Regions from separate parts of the Homo sapiens genome. Here all the other regions are linked to region 2. Evidence: promoter capture Hi-C in human tissues and cell types (Jung and others, 2019). All regions are on one chromosome and are shown on one strand. The core of a region is centred on a gene start or on the middle of the fragment in contact, and the rest is flanking DNA. Distances in the headings are between cores, read along the strand shown.

Region 1 (3,425 bases), core at 917-3,416, 63 kb after region 2:
AGAACTTGCTGACAGATTTTTGAAGAGTAGCTCTGACTTCAGGGTGGTTTCAGGAATAACTCAGCTATATGGGTGGGTGTGGTGGCTCCCGACTGTAATCCCAGCATTTTGGGAGGCCAAGGTGGGAGGATCACTTGAGCCCAGGAGTTTGAGACCAGCCTGAGCAACATAGTGAGACCCCCATGCCTGCAAAAAATTTAAACAAAGGTGAGCTGGGTGTGGTGGGCCCATGGACCCAGCTACACAGGAGGCTGAGATGGGAGAACTGATTGAGCTCAGGAGGTTGAGCCTACAAGTGAGCTATGATCACACCACTGCACTCCAGCCTGGGCAAAAGAGTGAGACCCTGTCCCAAAAAAAAAAAAAAAAGGAATAACTCAGATATGAAATCACTTCATATTTATGTATTTATTTATTTATTTGGTATGGCAGGGACAGAGTTTCACTCTTGTCACCCAGGCTGGAGTACAATGGCATGATCTCAGCTCACTGCAACCTCCGCTTCTTGGATTCAAGCAATTCTCCTACCACAGCCTCACGAGTAGCTGGCATTACAGGCGCCTGCCACCACACCCAGCTGATTTTTGTATTTTTAGTAGAGACAGGGTTTCATCATGTTGGCCAGGCTGGTCTCGAACTCCTGACTTCAGGTGATCCACCCATCTTGGCCTCCCAAAGTGCTGGGATTATAGCCATGAGCCACCGCACACAGCCTATTTCATATTTAAAATGTGGTGGCAGTGACAAAGAGTTGACTGCCTCACTTAGCTTTTCTTTCTTTCTTTTTTTTTTTTCGTTGAGACATGATCTGATATGGTTTGGCTGCTCCCCCACCTAAAATCTCATCTTAAATTGTAACCCCTATAATCCCCATAATCCCCGTGTGTCAAGGGCAGGACCAAGTGGAGGTAATTGGATCATGGGGGTGGTTCCCCCATGCTGTTCTCATGATAGTGAGTCTCACGAGATCTGATGGTTGTTTAAGCGTCTGGCATTTCCCGTGCTTGCACTCACTCTGTCCGTCCTGCTGTCCTGTGAAGAAGGTGCCTGCTTTTCCTTTGCCTCCTGCCATGATTGTAAGTTTCCTGAGGCCTCCCCAGCAATGCAGAACTGTGAGTCAATTAAACCTCTTTCCTTTATAAATAACCCAGTCTCGGGTTATTCTTCATAGCAGCATGAGAACAGAGTAACATAGGGTCTCACTCTGTCACCGAGGCTCTGGAGTGCAGTGGCACAGTCATGGCTCACTGCAGCCTCGACCTTCTGGGCTCAGGTGATCCTCGCACCTCAGCCTCCCAAGTAGCTGGGACTACAGGTTTGTACCACCACAGCCAGCTAATTTTTTTATATTTTTTATCGAGACAGGGTCTTGCCATGTTGCCCAGGCTGGGCTCAAGCAGTTCACCTGCCTCGGCCTCCCAAAGTGCTGGGATTACCAGGATGAGTCACCACGCCTGGCCCTCATTTAACTTTTAACCTTGATAAATTGTATGTTGTATGTCAAGGCAAAACGGAAGTGGGGGGGAGGGTGCAGAGGCAAGCATCAGGTGGGTAGAATACCCTCCCTTTATCACACATATTAACATTCCTTGCACAATTACCCAGTGAATATTCTCATTTTGGACTTTTTCCACACCCTAAATTTAGTAAGCTAGAATTATCTTTATTTATTTCTCTCTTTTTTTTTTTCCTAAGTCACTGTGTTTTAGGATAGAATTATCTTTTAAGCACCACTTTAAGCAACCTTTTTGGAAGGAAGAATGCTGACAAGGAGGAGATCTGTGTTTCCTTGTGGTTAGAATGCAATATCCTTAACTTAATCATTCTGCCAAGAAGCTGAGTCTCTTTATATGCTGACAATAGAGCAAAGACAGTAATCCAACACATTCATTACAGGTTTGTAAGATTAAAAATTTATACATTCAGATTGGAAAACATGAGAAACAGACTTGCTGCCAGACCATTAATTCTGGGCATCTCTGCATTCTGTGTTCTGGAAGCTGTGCACATTGAATTGAATAATTGCCTGAAACATGCCAGGGGTTTTCATTATCTAAAGAAGTCTATGTCGAGCCTTTTTACAACTAAAACCTCTCTAAAATGAGACTTAAGGAGTTTTTTACTTAATTTATAGACTTTAAAACACTAAGATCTGCATGTAAATAAGTTTAAGTGAGATGTGCCTATAGAATAAAACAATTAGAAGTAATTTCTTTGGTTTTCTTCTTATTATTATTTTTTAGTAGAGATGGGGGTCTCGATTTTTTGCCCAGGCTGGTGTCAAACTCCTGGCCTCAAGTGATGCTCCTGCCTTGGACTCCCAGATTGCTGGGATTACAGGCATAAGCCCTTGCTCCTGGCCTAGAAGTAATTTATTTAAAGTCTTGTTTACAAAGAGAAATGCACGAAGCACGTACAGAGGAAGAAAGAACAGTTCCAAATGAATGATTTTTGTTCCTAGTATTTGAGGAACAAAAGGTTCACTGACAAGAGTCAGTGATGAAATGTGGCTGTGTTTGGGAAAACATGGGATCTTTCCCTTCTACGCCTCATTATGAGATTAATTTGTAGTGTGGAATAAACAAAGCTAGCCCTGGAATTCAAAGAATGGGTTTTAAACCCAGCTCTGCCTCTAATTAGCCAGGAGACCTCAGCCTAGTTCCTTAATCTCTCTAAGCCTCCTTTTTCTCCTCTGTAAAATGGAGATATAGTAACTGCCTCAGAGTGTGATTAAGAAGAGTACATAAAAAAGTGTATATGAAAGACTTGAAGTCATGCTATTTTTGTTTCTAAAGTCACAGGGGGCAGGGCGCAGTTGTTCACACCTGTAATCTCAGCACCTTGGGAGGCTGAGGCGGGTGGATCACGAGGTCAGGAGATCGAGACCATCCTGGCCAACATGGTGAAACCCCGTCTCTACTGAAAATACAAAAACTAGCCGGGCATGGTGGCATGCGCCTGTAGTCCCAGCTACTCAGGAGGCTGAGGCAGGAGAATCACCTGAATTTGGGAGGCAGAGGTTGCAGTGAGCCGAGATTGCACCAGTGCACTCCAGCCTGGGTGACAAAGCGAGACTCTGTCTCAAAAAAAAATGAATCAATAAAATAAAATAAAAATAAATAAAATAAGGTCATAGGAAGCCATGCAACTAAACAAGGGGACTAAGTGAAAAGTCTGTAAGAAATAAGGAAGTTTGTGTATATCCCTCCCCTGCCATTATCCCAATTAATACAGCTGTCCCTTACTGAGCCTGTACTAAGTCACAAGCACTGCATTCCGGGTTTGCTTTCTTTCACTGGGCAGAGCTGATGCCCACTGAATATACAATTTGTAGAGAAGTCTGATGTGGATGATTGTACTTAGAATCAAACTTCTCAAACTTATTAAACAGCCAACACATATTGAGTGCCTACTACATGCCAGGC
Region 2 (3,132 bases), core at 337-2,836:
ATTACAACCTCCACCTTCCATGTTCAAGTGATTCTCCCACCTCAGCTTCCCAAGTAGCTGGGACTACAGGCGCCTGCCACCACACCCGGCTAATTTTTGTTTTTTAGTAGAGATGGGGTTTCACCATGTTGGCCAGGCTGGTCTCGAACTCCTGACCTCAGGTGATCTGCCCACCCTGGCCTCCCAAAGTGCTGGGATTACAGGTGTGAGCCACCATGCCCTGCCTCTTTGTTTTAAATGACAAGGATTTCATTTCATATTTAAACTGCTGTAACACAAGGGACAAGGAAAAGTGAAAAGAATTTTGTTTCTCTAGAGAAAAAAAAAGGCTAGGCGGTACATTAAACTTGGATGGCAGCCTGTCATGGAACCTGGGGATTGGTCACATTGGCCAGTACTTTCTCTAACCCAGAGATCAAAACCTGATCTGCCACCACTGCTGGGAATGGAGTCAGTCCTGGTTTCAGCTATAGCTGACACCATCAGCTTCAATCTGAGCCAATCTACTTTCTGCCTTTCTTCTAGTAGACAGCGAGAGTTCAAGCCAGCCTAGTTCTCAACAGCATCATCTGCTAACATTTATCATCTCCCCCACTTCCCTCTCACACAATAAGGTAGGCACTGGGGAAGGTAGCACAGTCCCTGCCTTCAAAGTGCTTACAATCTTGGTGCTTACAATAAAAATGCCGATCAAGTGAATATGTCACTAGAAGGCAGCACATGAGAAATTAATATGAAGATGGCCGGACACAGTGGCTCATGCCTGTAATCTGAGCACTTTGAGAGAAGGTGGGTGGATCACCTGAGGTCAGGAGTTCAAGACCAGCCTGGTCAACATGGTGAAACCCCATCTGTACTAAAAAACAAACAAACAAAGAAAAAATATATACAAAAAATTAGCCAGGCATGGAGGCGGGCGCCTGTAATCCCAGCTACTTGGGAAGCTGAGGCAGGAGAATGGCTTGAACCTGGGAGGCGGGTTACAATGAGCCAAGATTGCGCCACTGCACTCCAGCCTGGGCGACAGAGTGGGACTGCATCTCAAAAAAGAAAGAAAGAAATATGAAGATGAATGTTTTGAGAGTCTGGGGAAAGTGAAGTTCACTATGAGCTGAGCTGGTGGAAATGGCTTCCTGAATGAAGGAAATCCATGGTGCCTTCTCCATTTTGTGGGAGGCACTGGTTTAGAGAGTGGTTAAGGACATAAACTGCAAAGCCAGGCTGCATTGTTTGAACAAGCTCAGCTCTGCCAGTAACGAGCTGTGTGACCAGGGCAGAGTACCTAGCCTCTCTGTGCCTAGGTCGCCTCCTCCCTAAAATTAGGACAATAGTAATTATGTCTCCCTCATAGACTTGTGGGGAGTATAAAATGCCTTAAGCTAAATGAAGCACATGGCATATAATGAAGGCTAATGGGGGCTTCGGACCATTGTTCTTTATGACACGGTTTCTTGAGACCGAGGCATGTACAAGCCAGTGCACAGAATCGTGTCTATGTAATTAGTTAATTCTGTCTGGGAGGAGTGTGTGTGTTTAAGACAGTGCCTGGGATGACTTATAATGTAATCTTTAGGCAAAACGCTTTGTAATTGGTGCAGCTCTGAGAACACACGCATGCATTCCAGGCGGTGCTGCTGGGGCTCGGCGGGGCCGTGTCTGGTCTGCAAGGCGCGCGGGCTCGTGGGGGGTTGGCTGGGGAGCCCACGCTGCCTGGCGACTCGGGCCACCGAATGTGAGACCGAGTCCCTTTATGTCACCAGCGCACACGCTGATTTGAACCCTGCTTCGACGTGTGTGTCATGGCTTAAAAATAGCTGCTAATCTGTCAACCTGTCTTGGGCAGAAACAGCGGCGGCGACAGCAGCAGGAGCGTCATGGCCGTGGCGCTGTCTGCGCCGGCGATCCGCCTTTCGGACTGAGGCCCAGCGCAGCGCTTGCAAAGAGGTAGAGGGGCTGCGGCGGGCCTTCGCCTTTTCAGCTGGCTCTCCACGCTGGGGAGAGGCGCCCAGCTAGGGGCGACGGGGGAGGGAGGGGACCGGGAAGCGGGCACCCGAGCCCAGCGAGCCAGCCTCTCTCTCCCGGGCGCCCTCCCTCCGCGCGCGGGGCCCGGCTGCCAGGCTGGCGAGGACTGGGGCGACAGCCATGGACCTGTTACAAAGGCGACCGCAGGCGGAGGGAGGGAGCGGCGGGCCAGGGCCCCTGGAGCCGACGGATGGGATTGGAGAATGCCCAGGGCTGTATCCCTGGACAGAAAGGGGCTTCTGCATCCCCCGGGAAAAACAGCCCCACGGAGATCCTTCTTAGACCTGGGCTCCTTCACGCTTCCCCCATCCCATTCATCATCTCGTAGACAGCAGACTCTCTAAGAGGAAAGGTTGTATTGCAATACAGTAATGGGGTCTTTAGGCCTGGGTGCAAAGGTAGAAGAAGATGATGGTGATAGTGATGGTGGTGATGGTGGTAGTGATGATGGTGATGGTGGTGGTGATGATGGCTGTAGTGCTATATTTCTGTGCTCCTTCCGGACCCAGCCATTGAAAACTCTCTCTCCCTAAACTCCCTAACATCCAATCTTCCCTCACCAATCCTGGTCCTAAAACCCCTGCTTCTAATGCCTTGTAAGTGCTTGGTTTCTCTTGGCACTGGAGCAAGGGAGAGCTGGGCCCTGTCTAGGGGTGTGAGATGGGGACAGAGCATGGGCAGGGACAAAGATGGCCTCTCACTGCTGGTCATAGAGTTGAAGTCCCCCTGGCAGGAGGCCAGGAAGGGAGTGGAAGGGGATTCTGCAGGCTCCAGGACCTCCTGCTTTCAAACAGGCAGGACCACAGGTGTGAGAGGATGGGGAGGGAGGGGGAAGGGGCCTTGCCATTGTTGCCTCCCTGCCTGAAGGTCCCAGGGCAAGCCTCAAACGCTGGTCCTTCCCAGCTCTGCAGCTCAACAGGTAATCTGAGACACACCTGCTAAGCCCCTCGTTATTGACCTCGTGTTTTGTAGGGTCACTTGACTCCAACAGCCATACGGTTGGTAATTCTAAGCCTCTGAGCCCCTGGACCTGGCAGGATCCCTCATTTTTCCCTTTCCTTCCTGCTTTCTAGGCCCCCACCACCCACCCCTGTCCCCCCTCCCCTCAAG
Region 3 (3,297 bases), core at 147-2,646, 42 kb before region 2:
CCCGATCAGATTCTGTGATTCTATATTATTTTTTAAGAGTCAGGACCACAGGGTTGCTGGACTCCAGAGAGGCACTGTTCATACAGAATATAATGTAAAGGGCACTGGAACTGAATGAAGTCAAGGAGATTTCCAGGTGCAGCAGTGCACACCCGTAGTCCCAGCTAGTCAGGAGTCTGAGGCAGGAGGGTCACTCCAGCCAAGTAGTTTGAGACCAACCTGGGAAACACAGTGAGACCCTGTCTCTAATAAAAAAAAATATATAAAAACTAAAAAAATCAAAGGGTCTCGCTCTGTCTGGAGTGCAGTGGTGTAGTCATAGCTCAGTGCATCCTCAAATTCCTGAGATCAAGCAATCCTCCCTCCTCAGCCTCCCAAGTAACTGGGATTATAGGCACACACCACCACTCCTGGCCAGTTTTTGTTTTGTTGTGTTGTGTTTTGTTTTGTTTTTGTGGAGATGGGGCCTTGCTATGCTGCCCAGAGTAATCTCCAACTCCTGGGCTTGAGCAATTCTCCTGCCTCGGCCTCCCAAAGCACAGGGATTACAGTTGTGAGCCACCACACTCCACCATGAATATCTTTAGAAGGACCATTTTGAGCCTACCAAAAGGGCCCTCACATACATAGGCTCCTCTCCATAACTAGGAGAGAAGGTTGCCAGAAGCTTCCACTACAGACAGCACCTGCCAGGTCAAAACTGTGGAGGAATTAGAGAAGGAGCTCTACCAATGAGGGCTCTGAAGCCAAGCAGAGCTTTTTTTTTTTTTTTTTTTTTTTTGTGAGACAGAGTCTCACTCTGTCGCCCAGGCTGGAGTGCAGTGGCACAATGTCTCAGCTCACTGCAACTTTCGCCTCCTAGATTAAAGCAATTCTCCTGCCTCAGCCTTCCAAGTAGCTGGGACTACAGGCACACACCACCACACCCGGCTAATTTTTTTGTATTTCTAGTAGAGAAGGGGTTTAGCCATGTTGGCAAGGCTGATCTCGAACTCCTGACCTCAAGTGATCTACCCACCTTTGGCTCCCAAAATGCTGGGATTACAGGCGTGAGCCACCGCGCCTGGCCCCAAGCAGAACTCTTCTAAACCATCAACCATGGAGAGCTCACTAGGATCACCTGTGCTAGAGGAAACGCTGAATTCATTTTCTATACATTATGCAGAAGATGACATCACTCTTGCCGTATAAAGAAGTGCTTCACCTATCAAGAACCAATCTTGTGAAAACATTTTCGGTCTGTCCTTTAGTTAAATTTATAAACATATTTATAGCCTGGAATTGTGACTGATTCGATTGCAGCTTTGTGATGATTTGGGCACGCTGACTCTTGTTCTCAGGATGGTCTGTAGCACACCTTCTCCCAGTTGTCCAATCAAACCCTAGTTGAGGTGCGGCTTTAAGGGGATTTGGCAGACGTAAACAAAGCCCAAAATCCTTGAGTTAATCATGAGAGATAAGGTGTGGGTTGGGCTGACCCAAGCAAGTGGAAACTGTTTAAATAGCCCATGGGAACTCCCTGAGGTTTAGAGATACAGACAGCAAAGGAGAGAGGATCCTCAAAATGACTTATCCATGTCAAACCCTCCAGACTCAGCTCAATGCAAACATCCTACACATGGCAAATGAAAAAGAAAAAAAAAGTCAGAAAATGCCCTGTGATAATTGGTAGCCAATTGAGGCAACATTGGATGAGTTGGATCAGAAGATGAAGCTGAGAGAGAACTTCAGGAAGAAAAGAGGCCAGGGGAGTGTCTCTGGCCCACCTTCAGGATTCCTCATTGGAAATCCTGCTACATCTTAGAGATGTTTCATTAGCAGAAAGCCATCAGCAGAGAACTGTGTGCGTATTATCTGAAAGAAGATTATGCAGATCCAAACCTGACTGCCAAGTGGAAAAGAGACAGTTACAAGGCTTTGTGCTGCCTGTGGTGTGTTCAGACTCAGGATACCAACTTTGGAACCAACTGCATCTGCCAGGTTGTCTAGGGCACCCTTGACATAAGTGACTTCATCTTAGAAAAATACTTTATTTTACATTTCAAAAGGCATTATGCCAACAGGACCAGATGTTTGCCTAATCAATGGAGACAACACCCAACTAGATAAGGGCATATGACCCTTTATTATCAGCCCTCATCCGAGGACTCAAGGGTGATAAGATGAGCCGGACTTCACCAGCCAGCCCTAGCCATCTTGAGAGACCCCGTCTTGCTGGTGCTTGTGATCGACACCTGGCATCTGCCACCCAAGGCTGTGCTCAAATCAAAAACTCTTCCTGCAAGACATTGACAACTGTCTGGATCAGCCCAGGACATCTTCCTTGTCCACATAGCTCTCCCTGGACTGGTTCATTAACCCTTATTCCTATCCCCTTTTCTCTTGATGTTAAATCTTGTTTGATGTGTAATGTTTAATCTATAACGTTTACATATCGATTAAGTATACTGTTAAGAATGGTCTGCAATATTGACTGACTTGTGGAGTGGCTTGAACCTGTGTGCCCATGGCTCTGACTGAGTGAGCAGGTGGTATTTAGGAGAATTGCCTGTGTAGCTTGTGGCTTTTATGATTAAAACAGCATCAGTAAAAGTCTAACCTTGTGGAAAGACTCAAACATACATGGACTTGGTTCTGCCTGTCCTTGCACTGCTCATGATCCGGGTCCCCCAAAGCCAGTGGGAAGCCGGAAGCATGGTGGAGAGGGTGCCCTGTGGCCACAAAAGCTGTTCCTCCAGTGGCCACTCTGGCCCCACTCCCACTTCACCCTGGACTTTGAACTTCCATGATGTCTGGGTCTCCCCAAGCCTCTGGGTCCCTAAAAGTGATCTATGTTGAAGACATCCAGAACTGAGTATGTCATGGTCACCTCCCAAAACACCCCCAGCCCTTCCCAGTAGCAAGGCTGGAACTCTGCTGCCTCTGAACCAGATCTGGAACTTTGATCCCAATTACATTTGAGAGACAAGGGAATATCAGTTCTGTATCCTCAGAAAACCTTTGCCTCCCCAAACCCAAGGTCATGAAAGTAAAATTTGAAAGTAAACAAGAATTTAAAAAAAAAAAAAAAAAAAAAAAACAGATAAATAGTCTCCAGAGAGAAGATATTGACTCCTGCTCCGTTAGGGTCCTTCAAGACCCAGTAAATGCCCAGTTAAAGGGTGGAGAAATGGAACCTTGTGCTTTAACGTTCTTTCCACCAGGTGGCGTGTGCTGAGCCTTTGGGAAAAAAAAAATCTTTGAAAAAAAGATATTGCTTGAGTGGCTTGTATTTCCTTCCCAGCACAAATAGAAACT

The links. The method cuts DNA at HindIII sites, captures the fragments that hold promoters and counts their contacts. A contact is called where the count stands out against the background at its distance.
Region 1: a contact is called between a fragment that was not itself captured here and the fragment with the promoter of DUSP26 in region 2, in 1 of the 25 tissues and cell types used here (psoas muscle).
Region 3: a fragment that was not itself captured here is called in contact with the fragment with the promoter of DUSP26 in region 2 in 3 of the 25 tissues and cell types used here (pancreas, spleen and stomach).

What each region holds. Positions count from the first base shown.
Region 1 is chr8:33,535,307-33,538,731 of GRCh38, reverse strand. No RefSeq gene overlaps it. Among named protein-coding and RNA genes, the nearest start is that of SNORD13, 24 kb to the right of the region's middle. RefSeq lists a silencer at 884-1,084. The HindIII fragment of the contact is 4,604 bases long and covers 1-3,425 here.
Region 2 is chr8:33,598,477-33,601,608 of GRCh38, reverse strand. DUSP26 (dual specificity phosphatase 26) reads left to right here and starts at 1,586. Exons shown (of 4, transcript NM_024025.3): 1 at 1,586-1,944. The HindIII fragment of the contact is 23,069 bases long and covers 1-3,132 here.
Region 3 is chr8:33,640,267-33,643,563 of GRCh38, reverse strand. It overlaps the pseudogene BUD31P1. Among named protein-coding and RNA genes, the nearest start is that of DUSP26, 42 kb to the right of the region's middle. The HindIII fragment of the contact is 8,056 bases long and covers 1-3,297 here.